Regions from separate parts of the Homo sapiens genome. Here all the other regions are linked to region 3. Evidence: promoter capture Hi-C in 16 types of primary human blood cells and fetal thymus (Javierre and others, 2016). All regions are on one chromosome and are shown on one strand. The core of a region is centred on a gene start or on the middle of the fragment in contact, and the rest is flanking DNA. Distances in the headings are between cores, read along the strand shown. Region 1 overlaps ZNF329 (zinc finger protein 329). Region 2 holds the start of ZNF544 (zinc finger protein 544). Region 3 holds the start of ZNF671 (zinc finger protein 671). Region 4 holds the start of ZNF17 (zinc finger protein 17). Region 5 holds the start of ZNF543 (zinc finger protein 543).

Region 1 (5,086 bases), core at 1,385-3,884, 400 kb after region 3:
TAATGGTTCACAGTGGCTGAATTAGAAGCATCCTAAATGAACAACCATGGAGGTAGTGGTGGGGTGATAACATAAACATAACAACTCAGTATTTTTGCTTCAACAACTAAAGCAACAAACCACATCTGTTAGAAGCAGCCCTTTCCATCTTAGCACAAGCTTGTTTCAGTCTTTTTTTTTGAAATGGAGTCTCGCTCTGTCACCCAGGCTGGAGTGCAGTGGTGCGATCTTAGCTCACTGCAACCTCCACCTCCCAGGTTCAAGCAATTCTCCTGCCTCAGCTTCCCAAGTAGCTGGGATTACAGGCACACACTACTATGCCCAGATAATTTCCTGTATTTTTGGTAGAGATGGGGTTTCACCATGCTGGCCAGGCTGGTCTTGAACTCCTAACCTTGTGATCTGGCCGCCTCGGCCTCCCAAAGTGCTAGGATTACAGGCGTGAGCCACCACATCTGGCCTGCTTGTTTCAGTCTTAAGAGGAACGACTTCATTGTTCATTCACAGGTAATTTATTCACCTAGTTTGCCCTCCTGCAACGAGTCCTCAGCATTATTGCAGGAGTATAATGCAGACATACATTCAAACAGGAAAATCTCACACATTCTGTGGTGTGTGCAGTACAGCACTGTGTGGACTCTCTCATTGTACACCTTTGTTGTTACAGAAAACACAGTAAGAGCCCCTGCCAAAGCCTCTCTTTCTGATTACACTTAAAAAAGGTTGATTCAGGCCAGGCAGTGTCTCATGCCTGTAATCCCAACACTTTGGGAGGCTGAGGTGGGCGGATCATGAGGTCAGGAGTTCAAGACCAGCCTGGCCAACACAGTGAAACCCTGTCTCTACTAAAAATAGAAAAAATTAGCCAGGCATGGTGGCAGGCACCTGTAATCCTAGCTACTTTGGAGGCTGAGGCAGGAGAACTGCTTGAACCTGGGAGGCAGAGGTTGCTGTGAGTGGAGATCATGCCACTGCACAGTGAGACTCTGTCCGAAAAAAAAAAAAAAGTTGATTCAGTGTTTGCTTACGTACAAGGTGGAAACTCCCTACTACAGGGCTCTTCATTCCAATCATGTTCTGAATGCATTCACAGGTTCTCTCTGTGGTGTCACCCCCATGTTTGCACATTTCATTCCAGTGTGTGTGTTGTCATGTCTGGTACAGACTGAATCATCCCCAAAGACTTTTCTGCCCTCATCCTAAGTTGTCTCTGGAGTTCCCCAATGAGCAGACTTAACAGTGTGGCTCAGCAATGTCTCACATTCATCAATTCACTGGATAGCTTAAAGGATTCTTTTCTACTGACCAGAGAGGAGTCAGATCTAAGACACGCCTCCTAAACACAGGAGTGAGAGTGAACTGGAAGACTCATGTGGCCCCCAACCATTATGTTTCCATGGGTTGCTCTCCCAGGTGTGCTCTTTGATGTCGAACAAGGGATGAGCTCTTTTGGAACATTTTTCCACACTGAGGACACCGGCTGGGACCCTCCCTGCTATGGAGTCTCTGATGTACTGCCAGGTGAGAGTTCTGCTTGAAGGACTTCCCACATTCTGGACACTGATATGGGGTCTCCTTAGTGTGAATTCTCTGGTGCTTGGTCAGACAGGAGCTGTCCCTGAAGGCTTTGCCACACTGATTACACTCATAGGGCTTCTCACCAGTATGAGTCCTCTGGTGCCTAATGAGGCCAGCGATATTCCTGAAAAGTTTCTGACACTGGTTGCAGCCATAGGGCTTCTCGCCAGTATGAATCCTCTGATGCCTGATGAGGTACGCACTCTCGATGAAAGTCTTGCCACATTCTTTACATTCATAGGGTTTCTCCCCAGAATGGATCTTTTGATGCACAATGAGGTGAGAGTTTCTGTTGAAGGATTTCCCGCACTCTGCACACTCAAAGGGCTTTTCTCCAGTGTGAGTCCTCTCATGCTGGGTGAGGTACGAGCCGTCCCGGAAAGCCTTTCCACATTTGCTACACTCATAGGGCTTCTCACCGGTGTGGATTCTGAGATGCACTGTAAGGTGGGAGATGTCAGTGAAGGGTTTCCCACATTCGTTACATCTATATGGTTTTTCCCCTGTATGAGTTCTTTGGTGCAAAATTAAGGATGAATTTCGGTTGAAGGTTTTTCCACACTCTAGGCATTCATAAGGTTTCTCGCCTGTGTGAATTCTCTGGTGCTGTGTCAGAGCTGAGCCATCACTGAAAGCTTTCCCACATTTACTGCATTCATAGGGCTTCTCTCCTGTGTGGATTCTTTGATGCACAATCAGGTTGTAGTTCTTGGAGAAGGACTTTCCACACTCATTACAAGTATAAGGCTTCTCTCCGGTGTGAGTTCGGTGATGCAAAACAAGAGAAGAGTTCCGTTTGAAGCATTTGCCACATTCAGTACATCTATATTGTTTCTCTCCAGGGAGATTTCTCTGGTTTTCATTAAGCGATGAGCTCAGAGTAAAGATGTTCTCAAAATTCTTACCTTCATACGATTTCTTGCCTCTTTTCATTATTTTCTGATGACCAAGAGAGGTAAAATGATTAAAAGACTTAACACTTTCAGGGTATTTGTAGGGCTTCTCTCTCACTGGATTTCTTCCATGAATAACTTCCATGGAATGGTTGAAGCCTTTTCCACAGGCATCACTGTCACCAGTTCTCTTATCTGCATAACTTTTAGGATAGCTGGGTAAGGCGGGGTCACAATCCAGACCACTAACATTTGAGTCAGGTGCATGGAAACCATTTGTTGCCAGAACTCTCTGAGACGGTGGAAGGTCTGAGCTTGCAATCAAATGCTCCCCAAAACCAGGATATTCACAAATTGCTTCCTGAGTCCCTGGTTTCTCCAGAGTTAAAGCTGATTGCCTCAAGTGTCCCTCCTGGTTCTCACAGTCCCAACCATCACCTAAACTGGACAAGCAGGGAACTTCCCTTGTGAATCTTTCCACTTCTACATCACAGGGTACTTCTCTCTCAGGAAAATTCCGAGTCGTCATTTTCAATCTCATATCCCAAACTGCAAAAAGAAGAAAAATGCAGACTTAGGTATATGAAGCTTTATCTGTAAGAGAAACAGACAATGATGATGGGCTAGGTGTAAAGATGTGTATTTTTTTACTTGTTTTCTCTTTTAAATTCAAATTTATACAAGGAAGAGGTAAAATCGTAGCCAAGGAATGGAACCAAGAACAGATTCAAAAAGAGCCATGTAGCATTTTCATCTTCCTAGAGAGCAGGCAGGAGGAATGGACCTCGGGATAAATCATCACCAAAAGGATTAGTTTGAGATGTGAGAGACCAGAGGCCAAGCATCCCTGCTCCCCCTAGAATTCCATCCCAGCCACTGCATTCTTGTCCCTGTCACACACTGCCCATCAGTACACATTTCCAAAGCTCTGACTTCACAATGAGCTTACAACAGCACTGAAGGAACAGTTCTCACCCCAGCTCTGTCATCAAAGTTCTGCATTCATGGATAGGACAAAGCACAGGCTTGGTGACCTAAAAGTTCTGGGTCTAAGTCTTAGAACTGTCAATGACCTGGCGGGGCACAGTGGTTCACTCCTGTAATCCCAGCACTTTGGGAAGTGGAGGCAGGTGGATCATTTGAAGTCAGGAGTTCAAGACCAGCCTGACCAACATGGTGAAACACCGTCTCTACTAAAAATACAAAAAAAATCAGCCAGGCGTGGTGGCACATGCCTGTAGTCCCAGCTACTCTGGAGGCTGAGGCAGGAGAATCACTTCAACCTGGTAGGCAGAGGTTGCAGTGAGCTGAGATCACACCACTGCACTCCAGCCTACGCGGCAGAGTGAGACTCCATCTCAAAAAACAAAACAAAACAAAAACTGTCAAAGACTGCCCTGCATGGTTGTTATAAAAACTGGATCATGTCGGCCAGGCGCGGTGGTCACGCCTGTAATCCCAGCACTTTGGGAGGCCGAGGTGGGCAGATCACAAGGTCAGGAGATTGAGACCATCCTGGCTAACGTGGTGAAACCCCGTCTCTACTAAAAAAATACAAACAATTAGCCAGGCGTGGTGGCGGGCGCCTGTAGTCCCAGCTACTCGGGAGGCTGAGGCAGGAGAATGGCGCGAACCCGGGAGGCGGAGCTTGCAGTGAGCCAAGATCGTGCCACTGCACTCCAGCCTGGGCCACAGAGCAAGACTCCGTCTCAAAAAAAAAAAAAAAAAAAAACTGGATCATGTACAAAGCAGTCTCCAAGGCTAGGGGATGAAGGGCATTCTGTAAATGGTTGCATGTGTCTTCATGCATATCAATCTTCCTGTCACCATCCTTGTCCATTCAGACTTCACAATATTAAGACAACTGGTTGTCCATTCATTCGTTCATTCATTTGGTGGGATCGGGTCTCGCTCTGTCATTCAGGCTGAAGTGCAGTGGTGTGATCTTGGTTCACTGAAGCCTCAATCTCAAAAACTTCAAGCAATTATCCCACCTCAGCCTCCCAAAATGCTGCAAATACAGGGATGAGCCATTGTGCCCAGCCTTCTTTCTATTTTTTAAGGTAAAATGAAAATAGACCCTTGCCTCAGAATACATACATACATATATGTCTACATTCTAGGCAATTTAAATATATATACATGTATATGTGTATATGTGTGTGTGTGTGTGTGTGTGCGCGTGTATTTACATTTCAGAAGGATACAGGCTGCAACATAAAGTCAAAGTTTAAATAATGTAGTATGCCTTCATAAGTGTGGCAGACTTTGATCAACAAAACTTAACCAAAAAACCATATGGCCAAGCATTGGGGGTCATGCCTGTAATCCCAGCACTCTGGGAGGCTGAAGTGGGAGTTATCACTTGAGCCCACACAGAAGGCTGAGGCTGCAGTGAGCTGTAATTGTGCCACTGCATTCCAGATTGGGCAAAAGAGACCATGTCTTAAAAACAAAAAACAAAAACCAAAAAATAAAAAACAGACAAGGATTAAGAAGTCTGATATCAGCATTCAAATTTTCCATCCAATAAAAGACACAATAAGAGACAAAATGCAAGTGGCAGATAGGGAGAAAATAGGACTTAAAAGCACAAAGAATTATTGCCCAAGAGC
Region 2 (4,882 bases), core at 1,205-3,704, 500 kb after region 3:
GCTAGTTTTTGTATTTTTAGTAGAGACAGGGTTTCGCCATGTTGGCCAGGCTGACCTTGCACTCATGACCTCAGGTGATTCACCTGTCTCAGCCTCCCAAAGTGCTGGAATTACAGGCATAAGCCACTGTGCCCAGCCAAAGGTAACATTTTTAATGTAACAATATATGGTCATTCTTTGCTCTTATGACACAATCCTACAAAAGGCGATCACTAAGCTTAAGCACTAAGCCTAAAACTGAATAATATAAACACTGATGTAGGGAAAGTTGTTCCTCAGACGACTCCATTATTGATACAGACATGGAAACAGTAAACAGAAATGTAACATCAAAGTTCTTATTTACTTGAACTTTTTTTTTTTTTGAGACGGAGTCTCCCTCTGTTGCCCAGGCTAGAGTGCAGTGGCGTGATCTTGGCTCACTGCAAGCTCCGCCTCCTGGGTTCAGGGCCATTCTCCTGCCTCAGCCTCCCAAGGAGCTGGGACTACAGGCTCCCGCCACCACGCCCGGCTAATTTTTTGTATTTTTTGTAGAGACGGGGTTTCACCATGTTAACCAGGATGGTCTCGATCTCCTGACTTCGTGATCGGCCTGCCTCAGCCTCCCAAAGTGCTGGGATTACAGGCGTGAGCCACCACTCCTGGCCTGAAATTTTCTATAATAAAAACAAACAAGATCATTTATTATCTCATAATGAAAAGTCCCTGAGGTGAGCATAGGCAATGTTGATTCAGTGGCACAAAGAGGATTCATTCCATCATGGATACTGGTTCTTTCCATTTTTCTGCTGTGCCATTCTCAGCATGTTGCCTTTACCTCCTGGGGTGGCTTCCTCATGGTGCCAGTGTGCTTGTAATTGTCCTACACATCACATACAGACATCACGGTCCAGGGGCAAAAGAAGACACATTGCTATCTTATGTCCACTTTTAAGACTGAGGGAACCGGCCGGGAGCGGTGGCTCATGCCTGTAATGCCAGCACTTTGGGAGGCCGAGGCGGGTGGATCATGAGGTCAGGAGATCGAGACCATCCTGGCTAACAGGGAGAAACACCGTCTCTACTAAAAAAGAAAAATTACAAAAAATTAGCCGGGCGTGGTGGCGGGCGCCTGTAGTCCCAGCTACTCGGGAGGCTGAGGCAGGAGAAAGGCGTGAACCCGGAAGGCGGAGAGTGCCGTGGGCCTAGATCGTACCACTGCACTCCAGCCTGGTGGACAGAGCGAGACTCCGTCTCACAAAAAAAAAAAAAAAAAAAAAAAAAAAAAAAGACTGAGGGAACCTTCCCAGGAAACCCCTAGCAGCCTTATTTCTCCTTGGCCAGAATATCCTTGCCTAATTCACACAGCAAGAAGCTTGAGTCCATTCTGATTAGCTTAGAATCCATCAAGATCCTCCCTTAGGGAGTTAGATTCTAGATTTCCCGGAAGAATCTAAAAATTGCAGGGTCGTGCTAGCCAGGTATGAAAATAAGCAAGTAAAAAGATGATGACTGTTGGGTAAAGCTATCGACAAGGTCAGCTACAAAACAGTCAAGCCAAGGAAGGCTAGTCACAGATGCACCCCAGACACAAAAGCACAGTCCAGGAGCTGAGGGTGCCTGAGCCACAGTGGTTCCCGCCTACCTGGCCTTCGTAGGAAAGTTTCCTGTGGTCTCCCTCATTGAAGAGCCAGGACGGGTCAGGCGGTGGTGGGTCTCAGACATTGAGCCCCACAACGCACTGAGACTGAACATCAGACCATTTATAATAACAGAACTCTGTCCCACAACTTCTGCAGCAATAGGTACAAAACAGAACTTGGTCACTGCCAGCCTCCCTATTTTTTTCCCTGTCCCACTTAGGAGCTACCACAGAAAGCCAAATAGGCTCGACTGAGCGATCACCTAGGACGAATCGCCTCCAGTTAGCGTGCTTCCACCTTCCACTCGGAATGCTCCAAGCAGGGCACTCCCGGGGCTTTGTTTCTATCACTAGGACGCGTCCCCACGCCCAGGCTGTCCCTGAGTCCCTGCCACAGGCGCAGATGTTGGCGGGCGCCCTTGCCCCTGAGCTCCCGGTTAACGGCCTTGGACTGTTCTCATGGCTCAGTCTTGGTCTCTCTCCCCAGCAGGGCAAGGCGCCGGGAAGGCACCCGAGATGACAGCGCCGAGCCCCATAGGCGCTAGTCCCGCCCTGGACGCCGACCGCCGCCTCCACAGTCTCGGCTTCGGTTGCTGGATGAGAACCAGCGTGGCCCGTTTAAGGGGGAGGGGACAGGCGCTGCAAGGAGCAGAGCCGCGGGAAGCAACTCCCTAAGCCACAATGCTAGTCGCGAACACAGGAAAAAGCTCATCCCGCCGCCGCGGGGCCCCATGCTCCCGCCGGCAATGACTATGCCTGTGGGAGCAACGGCTACCGGCGCGCGGCCTTCTGGGAGTTGTTTGTTGCGCGGAGCGCGGGCACGTCCGCCGGCCACCGGAAGCACCGCCATTGGCCGGTGCGTGCAGGTGAGTCTGGCGGCCTCAAGGTTGGCTCGGAGGTTTCACTGTTAGCCGGGTGCGGCCGGAGCGCAGGACCAGGCCAGAGCCGCCCCAAGTGATCTGGGCGTGCCGGAGAAACGAGCAGGGCCTGCGGGGGTCCCTCATGCGGCGAGGCCGAGCAAGGGCAGGGGCCTGATGGGATCGGGATCTCTCCGGCCTCAGGGACGGGGAAGGCCGGTCCAGTCAGGTTTCCCCTGCAGGAGCGCCCGGCTGGGTCTGAGCTTGTCGGGAGGCTCTCCTGCTGCAGAGCTGGGAGGGAACTTATAGTACCTCGCAGGTACGGGCAGGGGTGGAACTGGGTGGGACTGGGTGGGACTGGGTGGGACTGGGTGGGACTGGGTGGGCCCTCCCGACAGAGGGTGCCTGGGTCGAGGGCTGCAGGGGCGGGGGATTCAGGCTGGCGTCTGGAGCTCTGGGGCTGCCGACCCAGCGGGCCTCTCCCGGCTCCTTTTTCCTCCCTCAACTCATCTTCTGCGGCTTATCCACAGGTGGCAGCCAAGAGCCTCCTGGCACAGCGGCACCAGGCAGGTGACGCCTATTGGACCCCAGAGGTCATCCCAGCTCCAGACGTGGACACATTTTCTTCCAATGGTACGTGAAGCTTGAACCTTGCAGAGAACATGTGTATTTTCCAAGTGAACAGAAGATTAAGGCCAGTCCACGCAGGGCAGGGGTAACTGGGGTGTTGGGGGCCTGCACTGGTTAAGCGATGCTGGTGCACCCCATAGAGAGACTACAGAGGTGAACAGGATGGGATGTGTATGTAACGCCTGTAAGTTAGGGATCGGGGTTCCATTTGTGTTGGGTGATATTTGATGGGGACCGTACAAGGCAGTGCTAATGAGGAAGGCATGGGGTTGGATTTCAAGAGTCTAAGGGAGTAGGGAAACATCTGATTGTGGAAATGACTCCGTGTAAGGAGGGATGCCAAAAGACAGGAAGGAGTGGAGGAAGACTGTGTTTCTGTTTCCAGCGTGGAGCCAGGGTAGAAGTCACAGTGCAAGGAAGATGTGGTATGCCTGGTCAGTCTCTGCATGGGAGTTGAGGAGCATGTGGGTGACATGGCTGAATGTGGAGGAGGGAATGGCAGTGGCAGGAAGCCCAGGAGGTTTGGGCTGGACACGTAACCTGGAGCAGATTGGAAACGTCACCCCACAAGCAGGGAAGGAGAAAACTGGAAAAGGAAAGAGAAAGCAACTCCCTCCCCAGCCCTGCAGCCAGAGGGACTTCTGCCAGATCAGCCACCATACAGGTCCAGTATGAGGAACAGATGGGGAATTTTATGTCCAAGTATAATCACTATGAATACATGTGTTGTGCCCCTTTTGCAGGTTAACACAATGTTAAGCTCTGTAAATGCAACTCAATTAATTCTTTTAGCATCCTCACAAGGCAGGTCTTGCTGTTTTTCCAGATGTCTACGGATGAGGAAACTGAGGCCTGGAGAGGTTAAAGAGACCCGTTCAGAGTCCTACAGTGGCAGGTAATGGAGCCAGTACTTTGACAGCAGGTTGCAAAGTGAGTGTTCTCAGCCGTTGCCCTTGGATGCCTCCAGACAAGGAAGGACAGGGTTAGAGAGCAAAGATGGACACAGGCAGTGAGAGATTCCCCAGGGAAGGCCAGGAGCATCAGGACAAGATAGTAACACATAAGATATTGGGCAGACCTCTTGGATGTGGTCTACATTTGTGTTTGTGTGTGTGTTTGGGAGTGAGAGAGCAGAGCAGGATGGGCAAGATGAGGAGGGGGAAACTGAGAGTGTTGGTCACTCTGTTCAGGCCTCACCTGAGAGGAGAAGAGGCAGGGGGTGGGGCACTGGGATATGGATTCATCTTGACCAGGGAGAAGACATCTCAGCTCAGAATTTGAAGGGAGCTACTAATGAGTGCAGGCCTGCAGGAGTTTGTGTGCCAGGAGGTTGAAAGAGTCCAGAGTCATCCCTTGGAGTGAATTAAAAGGCCGATTTGTCTGCACAGAGAGGACAGTGGTGGGAGGGGACTGAAGTAGGGTGTGAGAGCATGAGCTCGCAGCTGTAAGGGGATAGTGACTGAGTGGATACTGGTGTTCCTGAACTCCTATACCACCCAGAACTCAGAAACTAGCAGGGTTGGGCAGAGAGGGCAGTCAAGGGCATAGGCAGATTGCACAGAACAAACAGATCAGAGAGGCCAAGAGGTGGGCCTCAGGCCAAGGATGTTAAGAAAAAGAACAGGGGCATTGGGCTGGGCTGGGGTGGGGTGTACCAGACGGGGAGGCTGGGAGCCTGAGTGGTAGTGTGCTTAGGGCCATGAGCTATGGAGCTCCCACCTTCTCACTCCCCAGCCACGAGGCCTCAGTTAAATTTTACTCAAGTTCTTTCTGC
Region 3 (4,351 bases), core at 1,103-3,602:
TGGCCAACATCGTGAAACCCCGTCTCTACCAAAAATACAAACAAATTAGCTGGGCGTGGTGGCGGGTGCCTGTAATTCCAGCTACTCAGGAGGCAGACAAGAGAATTGCTTGAACCCAGAAGGCAGAGGTTGCGGTGAGCCGAGATTGTGCCACTGCACTCCAGCCTAGGAAACGTGGTGAAACCCCGTCTCTACTAAAAATGGAAAAATTAGCGGGGTGTGGTGGTGGGCACCTGTAATCCCAGCTACTCGGGAGGCTGAGGTAGGAGAACTGCTTGAACCCAGGAGACAGGTTGCAGTGAGCCGAGATCGCGCCACTGCACTCCAGCCTGGGTGACAAGAGCAAGACTCCATCTCAAAAAAACAAAACAAAACAAAACCTGGCCAAGGCATGGTGGCTCACTCTTGTAATCCCAGCACTTTGGGAGGCCGAAGGGAGTGGATCAACTGAGGTCACGAGTTTGAGACCAGCCTGGCCAACATGGTGAAACTCTATCTAATAAAATACAAAAATTAGCTGGGCATGGTGATGCATGCCTGTAATCCCAGCTACTGGGAAAACTGAGGCAGGAGAATCACTTGAATCTGGGAGGCAGAAGCTGCAGTGAGCCAAGATCGCACCATTGCACTCCAGCCTGGGTGACAGAGCGAGACTCGTCTCCAAAAAAAAAATAAATAAATAAAATAAAACCAAAGCCAAGTGCAGTGGCTCACAACTGTAATCCAAACACTTTGGAAGGCTGGGGCCGGTGGATCAGTTGAGGTCGGGAGTTCAAGACCACCTGGGCCAACACGGTGAACGTCCCCCCCACTCCCCCGCCCCCACCCCACCCCTCCCACCTCCCCACCCCACCCCACCCCTCCCACCTCCCCACCCCCGTCTCTACTATAAATACTAAAATTAGCCAGGGGTGGTTGTGGGCACCTGTAATCTCAACTACTTGGGAGGCTGAGGCGGGAGAATCTCTTGAACCCGGGAGGTAGAGGTTGCAATAAGCCACTGCATCCCACCCTGGGCGACAGAGTGAGACTTCGTCTCAAAAAAAATAAAAAAAATAAATAAACTAAAACTAAAAGAAAACACACAAAATGAGGGTGAGATAATCAGATAGTAGCAATAGCACACCACCCATCGTTGCCATCCCAGGCCAAACTCCTCATACCCTACAGCTCTCTCCTCCTGCAAACACTGAAAAGAACCCTTTCAAATGGCAGGACCCTTCTCTTCTGGGGGGAGTCTCAAGAATGCCCACTCCCTCTTCCCTGCCCTGCAGTCCCAGCCTTCTCATCTCTTACCCCAGAGATATGAAATAACATACTTAAGACTGCCCCACTTAAATCTGACCTCCTGGCCTTGACCTACTCCAGACCGCTCCCTTCACCCCAAAGATATTCTAAGCCCAGCCCCTTCCCCACAACTTCAGACCTTCCTCTCTAGTTGCCTAAGTGAGGAAGCCTCCACTCTGAGACATCTCAAAGTCACCATTCCAAAATCCAAACGTTCATGGAAAAACAACAAAAACACCTTGCTCTTTCATGCCTTACTTTCAGTCATAGCTGCATATGATGGAGCAGAAAATCCTGTTGGTTTCAAATTTAAAACCTACCCAGAATATGATCACTTCTACCCACTCACCTGCCATTACTCTTGGTACATCCACCACCAAAGCATTCCTGGAATCCACTGCAGTAGCCTCCTTACCGGTCTCCTCGTATCCATCCTCGCAGTCCCCACCCCAAACTAATGTTCTCCCCTGAGCAAATTTCGAGACACTTAAAATCCCAGCTAAGATCACGTCCTTCTATTCAAAACCCTCAGTTAATCTCAACGCCCTCAGAATGAAGCGACAACTTCTCAGCCTGCCATTCCAGTCACAGTTCCTCAAACTCTGCTCTGTGTTGATGAGAACCCTGTCTCCCAAATGTTTGGGGGTCAGCAGCACCCCCGAGCCTTTACCTGCGCCGTCCCCTCCGCCCGTAACTCTCCCACACCCACCCACACCGAGATAGGACCCCGCCCCAAGAGTGCGTCGCTGTCCTGGGACACAGGGGCTGCAGGCACTTTACGATTCGGAGTCGGAGAAAGGGTGACTGAGGGCCCGGAGGACGCAGCACCCACCCGCGCGGAGTCCGTTAGCTCCGCCATAGGACCGTGGGCGCGGACAGCTGCCGGGAGCGGCAGGCGTCTCGATCGGGGACGCAGGCACTTCCGTCCCTGCAGAGCATCAGACGCGTCTCGGGACACTGGGGACAACATCTCCTCCGCGCTTTCCCAACACCTCCACCTGCGGCCCACACAAGCGTTACAGAACCCCGGCCAGGGACAGCCTGACAGAAACAAAATGTCCGCTACAAGGAGGAGCCGGAAGTCCCGCCCACGCACCCCCCGCAGGCACTGAAACACCCCTCTCCTGGGCCCTCATTGGGTATGCAACGTATAGGTTTGTGGGTAGAGTGTGGTTCCCACTGAGCTATCCTTCAAGGCAGGGGATTCTCGGCCTGGGCTCTTGGGAAAACTCGAAGTAGGAGGGCCAAGTTGTTTGGGAAAAGTAACCCGAGTTTCAAAGGGCTGACAGGACTTCCGTCCTCTTTTTTTTTTTTTTTTTTTTTTTTGAGACAGAGTCTCGCTCTGTCTCCCAGGCTGCAGTGCAGTGGCGCGATCTCGGCTGACTGCAACCTCCGCCTCCCGGGTTCAAGCGATTCTCCTGCCTCAGCCTCCCAAGTAATTGGGACTACAGGGGCCCGCCACCACGCCAGGCTAATTTTAGTACTTTTAGCAGAGTACGGGATTTCACCATGTTGGCCAGGCTGGTCTCGAACTCCTGACTTTGTGATTTGCCTGCTTCGGCCTCCCAAAGTGCTGGGATTACAGGAGTGAGCCATGGTGCCCGGCTGACTTCTGTCCTCTTAAAAGGCCTGGACCTAGATTCCCTGGAGTGTAGTATGCACCGATCGCAGAAATGTTGAGACATTTCAGATGTTCCCCAAAGCTGCAAAACTAAATAGATACACCACACCACAATGTCTCTTTGCGTACACTCACAGCTAGAAGCTAATAACTATTACCTTGTTGCTTTTTAAATATGTGTGCACTCAAGCTTTACAGTAACTTTTGTGAGCTTCAGTTTGGTCAGAGACGGAAGAGAAAATATTCCAAACAAGGCCTTGGAGTGGAAGAAGGAAGAGGGATGATGTGGAGTCTCCCTGAAACCAGTGGACAGATTTCTTCAGAAAACTCTTCCTGCCTGGGTAATCAGTGATGTCTCCATCACAGCAAAACACAGTGCAATTACCATTTAACCTGTCATTGTCATTGTAAGTATGGTGTCTGTGTTAGGAGGTGAGATTATCCCCGGGGGAAAAATCCTGACAGCTATTAATAATGATTCCGTAGTTATTTGAAGATAATGAAAGAAATTGCTCTAAGGAAATATCTGTGATAGATGGACAAAGTTAAGATCTCAGTAAAGTTTGAGCCTGAATACTAAAGTATAAGTGAAAGAATGAAGTTAAGCATATGGTTGTGTTGTGATCTTGACCACACTTTGTCAACAAAATGTGACTCTTTTTTCCTGAAAATGCTGAGCAATTGTAAAGAAGATATCAGAATGGTAAAAATCAACAGTGAAGTTGTGCTGTCTTGATAATTCACTGTTAAAATACACATCCAAGGAACACATACGAGCTCTCAGTAGGTGTTTTTCAAATGTGTTAGTAGCATGAAAGACATCACTAATAAAATTTCCAAGATTCCTATACATACAGGACATGTCCTGCATATAATGATTTTTGTCCTGCATCACCTTTTGACTTTGTCACAATACCCTAAATAAATATTCTAAAGAAGGCAACAGTCTTAAAGAAAAGAATTTTCAACCCGGAATTTCATATCCAGCCAAACTAAGCTTCATAAGTGAAGGAGAAATAAAATACTTTACAGACAAGCAAATGCTGAGAGATTTTGTCACCACCAGGCCTGCCCTAAAAGAGCTCCTGAAGGAAGCACTAAACATGGAAAGGAACAACTGGTACCAGCCACTGCAAAAACATGCCAAATTGTAAAGACCATCAAGGCTAGGAAGAAACTGCATCAACTAATGAGCAAAATAACCAGCTAACATCATAATGACAGGATCAAATTCACACATAACAATACTAACCTTAAATGTAAATGGGCTCAATGCTCCAATTAAAAGGCACAGACTGGCAAATTGGATAAACAGTCAAGACCCATCTGTGTGCTGTATTCAGGAAACCCATCTCACATGCAGAGACACACATAGGCTCAAAATAAAGGGATGGAGGAAGATCTACCAAGCAAATGGAAAACAAAAAAAGGCAGGGGTTGCAA
Region 4 (4,689 bases), core at 1,624-4,123, 320 kb before region 3:
CATTTTGAGTACCAACAAAGGGAGAAAGAAGTCTATAGTACAGTACAATTAAACTACACAAAAAGTAACAGTGCTCCTCTTTCTAAAACACATGTAAATACAAAAACACACAACAGACCTTTAGAATTGTTGTCTACAAGTGGTGGGGTGATGAAGTGTGAGGAACAGGAATGAGTGGAAACACGTCGGAACATTGAACAAGACGAGGTCCTTGTGGGGACATAAGGAGAGAATGTCCACTCACTGTCCAGAGCCTCCTGGGCCATTGTCACCATACAGCCGCTCATTACATGAAAGTGGAATTTCAAAAGGTAGCGAAACACCTAATAAAATATGTTGAAAGGGCTGGGCATGGTGGCTCATGCCTGTAATCCCAGCACTTTGGGAGGCCAAGCCGGGTGGATCATGAGGTCAGGAGTTCAAGACCAGCCTGGCCAACATGGTGAAACCCTGTCTCTACTAAAAATACAAAAATTAGCCAGGTGTGGTGGTGCACACCTGTAGTCCCAGCTACTCGGGAGCTGAGGCAGGAGAATTGCTTGAACCCAGGAGGCAGAGGTTGCAGTGAGCTGAGATCGTGTGACTGCACTCCAGCCTGGGCAACAGAGCGAGACTCTCTCTCTCTCCCTCTCTCCATATATATATATATATATACATACACATACACAAAGATATGTGGCCTGTCACCAAGTGTTAGATGGATGTTTGGGCCAGGCGAGGTGGCTCATGCCTGTAATCCCAGCACTTTGGGAGGCTGAGGCGGGTGGATCACCTGAGGCCAGGAGTTCAAGACCAGCCTGGCCAACATGGTGAAACCCCGTCTCTACTAAAAGTACAAAAATCAGCCAGGCGTGGTGGCCATGCCTGTAATCCCAGCTACTCAGGAGGCTGAGGCAGGAGAATCGCCTGAACCTGGGAGGCAGAGGTTGCCGTGAGCCGAGATCGTGCCATTGCACTCCAGCCTGGGCGACAGAGAGAGACTCTATCTCAAAAAAAGAAAAAAAAAGTTTGTTTAGTTTCTGTTGGTAAATATCTAGAAATAGAATTGTAGGATGGTAGGGATGTATTGTTGGTAAATGATTAACATGTTTTTAATTTTCAGTTTTTTCAGAGACGGGGATCTCACTATATTGCCCAAACTGGTTTTGAACTTATGAACTCAAGTAATCCTCCCGTCTTAACTTCCATGTAGCTGGCACTACTGAACAGCTTTAACTCTTCCAGACCTTCAGTTGGGTGGTTTTTTCTTTTCCTTTCGTTTCCTTCTTTCTCTCTCCTTCCTTCCTTCTTTTTGTAATTTGATAAACCAAATTTCAAGACTTTGGCCAAAAAACAGTCTTCTCCTTTACTGAATATCTCAGTGCTCCATTTTATTTTTCCCTCACCAATTCTGCAGGAGAGATCACAAGACTATGTCCATATCTTTATTTGTGGGGGTATGATTTTCAGCTAACATAGCTGCTAAGTGATTTAATTTACAATTATAGTGGTAGAAAAATAGCTCTAACTTCTGAGGTTTTGTAATTTATTGTAAAAAGCGGAATACAGGACATTTAAAGTGACCTGACAAGGTCAATACAGGACTGAGGACTAATTCATTAAATACGTCTTACGTGTCTTAGAGGACCACAGACAGCTAGCAACCCTACTCCTAATGTGTCCCATGCACTTAGTATTGTACCTGGCATCGAATGAGTGTTCATCAAATATGTTAGAGTAATAAATACGACAGCACAGTTTCCCTATTCAGCTTTACTTTTCTGGTAACTCTTTTAATATATAGTCTTTACCTCTCCCTTCAAGCTGTTAATGCACAATGTTTTCAAGTTTGAAAAAGAATCAGATTTTGGACACCAAACTTGAGTGTGTCCAAGGTTCCAGGACAACCTTAGCTTTTTTCCTCCTATCACAAATATGTTTCTCTATAACTATTTTTGCCACTTTCTTTGGATATCTACATAATCGTCATTAATAGTTTCAGTAATAGCCATTTCACAAGAGTTATTCAGAGACAATTTCAACTCCCTGTGCAGACACTGTTGATACAATTTCAGGCGAAATGATAAATCACTTTCCACTAATGAGATGAGATCATGCATTCCCAAACCTTTATCTCAGGAGTAAGATGCTTTCTTTGCACAAGGGCTTTGACTGGTGGAAGGCCACACTATTCTGGCAGATAATGGTAGATAAGTCGCTTTTCCTTTTCAGTTAGGTTTCAGTCTCTTAAAATAAGTGGAAAATATCTCAGATATAAAGTAATAAGTATCATGTGAATAAAGTGTTGCTGGGTAGGCTGAAAGACAATAACTGATTATTCAGAAAGGAAAGATATTACTCCTCAAACTCCCCATCATGCCATGTCTGGGTCTTTTCAATGTGCCCAGCAGAGCACATTGAAGATCATAAAACAGTCTCCAGAGCTTCGTTCTGTGTGTATTTGGCAAGCACAAAAGAGCTGACCGCTATGCGTGGAAGACCAGTTCTTTATGGTTGGCCATGTTCCTTCGGATGTTCGTCTTTTGGGAACTTGCTGTGCTTTACAGAATCTGAAAGGACAGGTCTCTGAAACATTTCTCTGACTTGTTCTAGACTGCCTTCCGGGAAAATCTGGATGCTTGCCGTTTAAAAGCCAATGAAGCCCCTCCACGTCCTTGGAGCCCCGCAACTGCATTTCTCAAAGCCTCAGGAGGATCCTCCTGGCTTTCATCCTGAACGCGAGTTAACTTAAGTTCAGAAGCGGGGCAGGCAGTGGCCTGGGAACTACATTACCCAAAAGACACAGCGGCGGACACAAGCAGCGAGTGTAGCCAATGAAGGCCTAGCAGAGCGGCGTCTACGGGGGTTCGCAATGCGTGTGGGCGGGACTTCCTGCAACGCCTCCTGGGGTTGTCAATATGGCTGCGTTGGGATCTGTTCACCTTCAGGCTGAGTCGAGACTGAGGTGAAAAAGCGGAAAAACGCGAGAAAAGGTTTCCCCGTTGTACAGAGGCTAGAGTGAGGCTCGGTTGAATCGGTTGCAGGCGTTGGTGCCTCTGTCAGCGTCCAGGTCACTGCCGCTCCCGCCCCGCTCTTCCCTGGCTGTGCTGGCGGAGGCTGCGCCGATGAACCTGACTGAGGTGGGTGCCGCGTCCCAGGGCGCCCCGCCCGATCCCTCCTCCGAGTGCCGAAGCCCCGAGGAGGGGCCCTGCAGGTCAGGCCCCTGTGTCCCAAAGAGAGGAGCGTTCTTGTGTGGGGTACCGGTGTCCGCGGTGCTGTGAGGCGGGGGAGCTCCTGTCAGGGACCTGCACGTGCGAGGCTTAGAGGTGCTGCAGAGCGGGCGGCACTGGGGAGCCCGAGCGTCTTTGTCTCCACGGAGCTGAGGGTGAGGCGGAGTCTCGCCTGGGAGGGCAGCGGAGCTGCTGAAAGCCGTAGAAGGCTGTGCAGGAAGGGTTATGCCCAGAGGTAGACGTTTAAAGTTGGGAAAAACAGGATGTTAAACCAGGACAAGGGGACCGCTGAGGAGACCCCTTGAGTTATGGTAGGGATGGGCCAGAGGGGTTGCAGTAGAGGGGAAGTGTGATGAGATTCTGGATGGATCTCAGAGATAGAGTCGACAGGATTTCCTGCTGCATCAAATGTAGCAGTGAGGGTAGTGAAGGGTCTATTCCATGGATTTTGTTTTGGCCTGAAAATCTGAAAGAATGGAGTTGGAGAAGTCAGCTTAGGGAGCAGGTTTCAGAGAGGATTATGAGTTGCATTTTGGAGGGCTGAGTTTTGGAGGGCAGATCATGGGTGGGTCCATAAGCCTGACGCTACCTTTAGAAAGGCGCAGACCTGTCATAGGAGGGATTCTGGCTCATATCTGCAAAAACGGAGTTCTGAATGGGTTAAGGAACTGGCCTAGGCTGGAGACTGAGGTGTGAGGTGGTTTAGATTTCTGCACCTGCAGACCCAGCAGCCCCCCAGGCCCACTCTGTGGAACAATAGGAAGGTCATCCAGACTAGTGGGGACATTGGGTCCAGACGGGGGTAGGGCTTTCTCACATCTAGTCAAGGGCCTCCAGCAAGCTTCCAGCAACTGAATTTGTAGCAGGCAGGCCTGGTTGCTGATGGGACCAGTAACTGACCTGCTTGCTTATCCCCTCCCTGCAACTTATTTATTTATGAATGTGTAAAACATTTTTTTTTTTTTTGAGACAGAGTCTCGCTCCATCGCCCAGGTTGGAGTGCAGTGGCGCGATCTCGGCTCACTGCAAGCTCCGCCTCCCGAGTTCAAGCAATTCTCCTGCCTCAGCCTCCCGAGTAGCTGGGACTACAAGTGCCCGCCACCACGCCAGGCTAATTTTTTGCATTTTTAGTAGAGACGGGGTTTCACCGTGTTAGCTAGTATGGTCTCTATCTCCTGACCTCATGATCTGCACGCCTCAGCCTCCCAAAGTGCTGGGATTACAGGCATGAGCCACCGCGCCCGGCCGAATGTATAAAACATTTATTTAACCACTAATGAACCAGTATCCTTCTAAATATGTACACATAGGTCGGCAGTTAGAAATGAATGTAACCAATAGTTAAATTTATTCACTTAATAATTGTTGAATGTTGATTTTTCTTTTTTCTTTTTTTTTTTGAGACGGAGTCTCGCTCTGTCGCCAGGCTGGAGTGCAGTGGCGTGGTCTCGGCTCACTGCAACCTCTGCCTCCCGGGTTC
Region 5 (4,889 bases), core at 1,101-3,600, 410 kb before region 3:
ACAGGTGCCTGCCAGCACACCCAGCTAATTTCTGTATTTATAGTAGAGATAGGGTTTCACCATGTTGGTCAGGCTGGTTTCGAACTCCTGACCTCAAGTGATCCACCCGCATCAGCCTCCCAAAGTGCTGGGATTACAGACGTGAGCCACCGTGCCCAGCCCATTTTGGTTCTTTGTTAATATGGTAATATTATATTTAAACTCTTGGATTGCATTATTGGTTTCCTTGGATTTTTCCTTCCTTGCCATCCAGACTCTGAATTCTAAGTCATTTCAGCCATTTAAGCATGGTTCCAAACCATCACTAGGGAGCTAGTGCAGTCGTTTGGAGACCTTTAGAGTTGCCAGAAATCTTGCACTGGTTCTTTCTCATATGTGTGGGCTGATGTTCCTTGAATCTTTGAAGTTGCTCTCCTTTGGATGGGGCTTTCTGCTTTTATATTATTTGATGCCCTTGGGAGTTTTACTGTGGTATAAGTTGGGTTTAGTTTCATGGTTTCAATTATGGGTGCTTTCACAGGCCAAGGCTCAGCTGAGCACTCCTGAGCTGCATGCTGTAAACCTGGGTAGAGGGGATTAAGCCCTTGGCTTTGTTCTCTGGCTGCTTGGGGTGAAGCACCTGCTGTGCTAGAGGGGCTGAGGTGTTCTCAGTCTGCTGGCAAAAGTGCTCCAGCAGAGCATTGTGGGGACTGCAGAGAGTGCACTGTGGCTGGGGGATGGGGAGGCCACAGGCAAGTGTGCACCACTTGGGCAGTAGAGGGGGGCTACCTGCAAGTGTGTGCCAATGGGGTGGCATGGCTGTGGTGTAGGTGAGTGAAGCACCATGGTGTGAGGGGTCCCCGGCAATGCCTCCCACCTTTTTGAATCTCCAGTGTCTATTATTCCACTATTTCCATATGTATACATCATTTAGCTACCACTTATAAGTGATAACATGCAGTATTTGACTTTGTTTCTGAATTATTTCACTTAAGAGAATGGCCCCCCAGTTCCAGCCATATTGCTGCAAAAGCCATGATTTTTTTTAATGACTGAGTAGTATTCCATGGAGTGTATATATATATACACATATATACATATACATACATATATATACATATATATACATATACATACATATATACATATATACATATACATACATATATATACATATATATACATATACATACATATATATACATATATATACATATACATACATATATATACATATACATACATATATATACATATATATACATATACATACATATATACACATATATATACATATACATACATATATACATATATATACATATACATACATATATACATATATATACATATACATACATATATACATATACATACATATATATACATATATACATATACATACATATATATACATATATATATCGCATTTTCTTTATCCAATCATCTGTCGATGGACACTTAGGTTGATTCTATGACTTTGCTACTGTGAATAGTGCTACAGTAAGCATGTAAGTACAGGCATCTTTTTGATATAGTGGTTTATTTTCCTTTAAGTAAATACCCAATAGTGGAATTGCCAGATCAAATGGCAGTTCTATTTTCAGTTCTTTGATAAATCTCCATACTGTTTTCCATAGAGGTTGTACTAATTTACATTCCCACCAATAGCATATAAGCGTTCCCTTTTCCTTGCATCCATACCAACATCTGTTGGTTTTTTACTTTTTAATAATAGCCACTCTGACCAGTATAAGATGGCATCTCAGTGTGTTTATGTGTGTGTGTTTTCTCTCATCATATCTCATTATAACCTCAAATTCCTGGGCTCAAGCAATCCTCTTGCTTCAGCCTCCCAGTGTCTAGGACTACAGGTGTACACCATCATGCCTTGCTCTTTTTTTTTTTTTTGGTAGATATAACATCTTACTATATTGCCCAGGGTGGTCTCAAACTCCTGACCTCAGCAATTATTTTGTGTTGGCATCCCAAAGCACTGAGATTACATATATGAGCTACCTCCCTAAAATAAGGGAAGTGAGCCAGAAGCTCTGGGCCCAGCCCATGATCTCAATCGGGGCGAATATCCCCGCCTCCTGACCTCAATTTTCCTAAGCTAGAAAGGACCTTTCGACCCTCCGACTTGTGCCCATAGTAAAGCGGCGGCCCTAAGACGACGCGGGGGTCCTTGTGCGCACTTAAATGGAGTCGGCTGCGCTTGGTGAGTTCCCACACCCGGTAGATGTGAGGGAAAAACTGCCTTACTCAGAAGGCACCACCCCTTGCGTCGGCCGCGGACTCTAGGCCAATGACGGGCCAGGACACGGGCGATTTCTGCGGGCCAGGGCGGCGGAGGTGGGACTTCCGCTTCGTCGCGTGACGTCATCTCCGTGAGCAGGATTGGCCCTGGAACAGTGTGGGGCCTGGACCGCTGGGTAGGCGCGTCCAGCGGCCTGAGCAGGGGAGGGTAATGAGGCTGTTACGCGCCTTCTCCGCATCTTGGCGGGAGCCTGACGCCCCGCTTCTTCCCTAACGGGGTGTTCCACCGGCGCCTGCCGAGGCCTAGGCCTCCGCAGCCGCCCTCCGTCTCCTCAGCCCCGACGCTGCGCCCGCTTTGTGCGCATTTTTCTCTGGGGAAACTGAGGCTCCGAGTGCGAAAGTCAGCCGAGGTCGCCCCGCCCAGGACAGAGAAGGGCTGGGGGTCGGCTGAGCCGCGGCATTCCCGGGCCCCGCTAGGGCTGCAGGGTCTCAGGATGGCAGCCTCGGCGCAGGTGAGTGGACGAGGTTTTGGCCTTGCTGCTGCTCTGCTACTTCTGGAGGCCTCGTGGGCAGGCAGAAGCCAAGACAGCCACAGGATGTTTCTTTGTCGCCGTCGTTTATTTAAGAGAAGTGGCCGTAGCTTGTCATTTCCTTTATCCGCAGTCCTGCAATAGTGTTGGCCTCCGACAGGTGCTCAGTCCTTGGTAGAAGGATGAATGATGCTTCCTTCATGGATCTCATCACACTTCCCTTAAATCCAACCTCCTCTGTTGCCTGCCAGCCCCTACCCCATCCACCTGGCCAACCACCCCTGACCTTGTCTCTCCATTTTTCCCTTGTCCTTTGCTCTTCAGAGCCACCAACCTGACCGTGCAGTCTTCTTCCTTTTTCCAGGCTTTCTCTTTGCACTTCCCTTTGCCTTGAACACTGCCCCTATAACTTCGCAGGGCCTCCCTCTCATATCTTTCTGGCCTCTGTCCAGATGTCACCTATTTGGAGGTGGCTTTCTTGGCAATTCCGGCTAAAGTGGCGCCTTACGCACTTGCCCATTTTTGGCAATGTGTGGCATTTTTGTATAGAGAATCTGACGATATTAAAGAAGCTTGCCGTTTGAGTTGGTCTAGGATGTTATGTGAACAAAGAGAAACGAAATAATTGCAAAGAGTGACAGCTGATCATAAAGAGTCCTTGCTGTGGGCTGATTGGCAGGCATTATTTAACCCTCAGCTCCTTTAATCCTGAACTCCTTAGAATTAGGTTCTCTTGTCCTCACTGTTTTACACAAGAGCAGCTGGAGGCTCACATAGGTTCAATTACCTGCCTTACATCACTGTAGCTCTTAAGTATCAGAAACTAACAACTGGTGTGTCTACCATCACAGCCTGTGTTTTTACCCTCTTCTTTGCCCGCAATGGTTAGGGAGGCCTGGGGGTGACACCTAAAGTAAACTTTGCAAGTTGAGCAGGCTTCCTTCTAGCAGGTGGTCTTGGACATGAGGAGTCATGGCATTTCATGCTGGTGGAACTGTGTGGACTAAAAAAAAATGGTTTATTGGTTGTTTAAGGAGTCCGCAGGGGACCCGTGTGGCTTCCACAGTGGTTTCCTGAGTGGTTTTCTCCTATACCAGCTGACACATGTCTTGGGACACAAGATTTTGTGGTCTTTTGCTAGATGTGCCTTCCTCCTTAGCCAGGACAGACATAGCCAGTCAGGGGCCCATGTTCTCATGGCTACAACCTGCTGTGTCCTCTGTGACTCTTGTTCCTTGCTCCTGAAGTATCCTGACCTCAGGGATACTTGTTGGTAGGACTCAAACAGGAAAAGGTAGTGATAGCTCGTTGTGGATTCTTCCTATGAGAATGGGCATCTGTGAGGCCCAGAAGTGTCCGAGGCAGCAGATGCAGGTCCAGGCCCTGCCACTTTTGAGGCAGGTGCCACCACCTCAGGTGACTCTTCTGTGAGGTAGGTGATTATGACTATGCTGCTCTGCCCAGGTCCATGAAAATATTTCAAGTGGCTAACCCCAGCACAGTGGCATGTGTCTGTATATCCAGCTTGGGAGGCTAAGGCAGGAGGATCATGAGTTCAAGCCCAACCTGGGCAAAATATTGAGACCCTGTCTCAAAAAAAAAAAAAAAAATCCTGAAAATATTTTCAGGGTGGCTCAAATGGATGTATTTCAATGTTTCCCATCCTCATTAACTGTGCATTAACTTTGCTAATGAAGGAGTGTCGGGTTGCATGATTAGAACATAGACCATAGGGCCCTGGGTTCAAATTCTGTCTCTCCTGATAAGAGATGTGACTTTGGGTAGACTAGTGGAGGTCCTGGACCTCAAGTCTCTGAGTGTGACATGGAGATGATGATGGTGAACTCAGGAGCTGTGGCCCTTTGCCCCAGTGTTTCCTTTACAGCTTTTCTTCAGATCTTTTGACTATTCTTGGTGAAGTGGAAAACCCTGTTGTGTTGACCTGGACATCAGGGCTCAGATAAATGAAATGAGATTTCCAAGGTCACATAGCAGGCTTGTGTTGATTTCAGGAATTTGGTTTTAAACCTCAGGAGTCTGACTCCTGAGCTGGGGACTTTTAGTCACTTTACCATGGCATGTAAAGCCATTAGCATGAGGCAGGCTCACAGGGAGGATCGG

The links. The method cuts DNA at HindIII sites, captures the fragments that hold promoters and counts their contacts. A CHiCAGO score of 5 or more calls a contact.
Region 1: a contact is called between a fragment that was not itself captured here and the fragment with the promoter of ZNF671 in region 3, in 2 of 17 cell types (naive CD8 T cells and naive CD4 T cells). The highest score is 5.4, in naive CD8 T cells.
Region 2: a contact is called between the fragment with the promoter of ZNF544 here and the fragment with the promoter of ZNF671 in region 3, in 3 of 17 cell types (non-activated CD4 T cells, activated CD4 T cells and total CD4 T cells). The highest score is 5.8, in non-activated CD4 T cells.
Region 4: the fragment with the promoter of ZNF17 here is called in contact with the fragment with the promoter of ZNF671 in region 3 in 15 of 17 cell types (naive CD4 T cells, total CD4 T cells, monocytes and 12 more); the score reaches 16.5 in naive CD4 T cells.
Region 5: the fragment with the promoter of ZNF543 here is called in contact with the fragment with the promoter of ZNF671 in region 3 in 8 of 17 cell types (activated CD4 T cells, naive CD8 T cells, total CD8 T cells and 5 more); the score reaches 10.1 in activated CD4 T cells.

The regions. Positions count from the first base shown.
Region 1 is chr19:58,126,492-58,131,577 of GRCh38, forward strand. ZNF329 (zinc finger protein 329) reads right to left here. Exons shown (of 4, transcript NM_024620.4): 4 at 1-3,020. The coding sequence starts at 3,012. The coding sequence ends at 1,387. Among named protein-coding and RNA genes, the nearest start is that of ZNF329, 22 kb to the right of the region's middle. The HindIII fragment of the contact is 846 bases long and covers 2,212-3,057 here.
Region 2 is chr19:58,226,460-58,231,341 of GRCh38, forward strand. It overlaps ZNF544 (zinc finger protein 544), which reads left to right and starts at 2,455. Exons shown (of 7, transcript NM_014480.4): 1 at 2,455-2,487; 2 at 3,009-3,111; 3 at 3,935-4,003. RefSeq lists an enhancer at 2,331-3,157. The HindIII fragment of the contact is 1,767 bases long and covers 1,353-3,119 here.
Region 3 is chr19:57,725,272-57,729,622 of GRCh38, forward strand. ZNF671 (zinc finger protein 671) reads right to left here and starts at 2,353. Exons shown (of 4, transcript NM_024833.3): 1 at 2,120-2,353. The coding sequence starts at 2,257. RefSeq lists enhancers at 2,052-2,552, 2,070-2,509, 2,650-2,699 and a silencer at 2,506-2,731. The HindIII fragment of the contact is 7,103 bases long and covers 1-3,096 here.
Region 4 is chr19:57,408,288-57,412,976 of GRCh38, forward strand. ZNF17 (zinc finger protein 17) reads left to right here and starts at 2,874. Exons shown (of 4, transcript NM_001330617.2): 1 at 2,874-3,119. RefSeq lists enhancers at 2,878-2,987, 3,068-3,127 and a silencer at 3,371-3,573. The HindIII fragment of the contact is 5,033 bases long and covers 1-4,048 here.
Region 5 is chr19:57,318,122-57,323,010 of GRCh38, forward strand. ZNF543 (zinc finger protein 543) reads left to right here and starts at 2,351. Exons shown (of 4, transcript NM_213598.4): 1 at 2,351-2,750. The coding sequence starts at 2,733. RefSeq lists enhancers at 727-1,244, 2,170-2,289, 2,300-2,449. The HindIII fragment of the contact is 3,609 bases long and covers 1-3,338 here.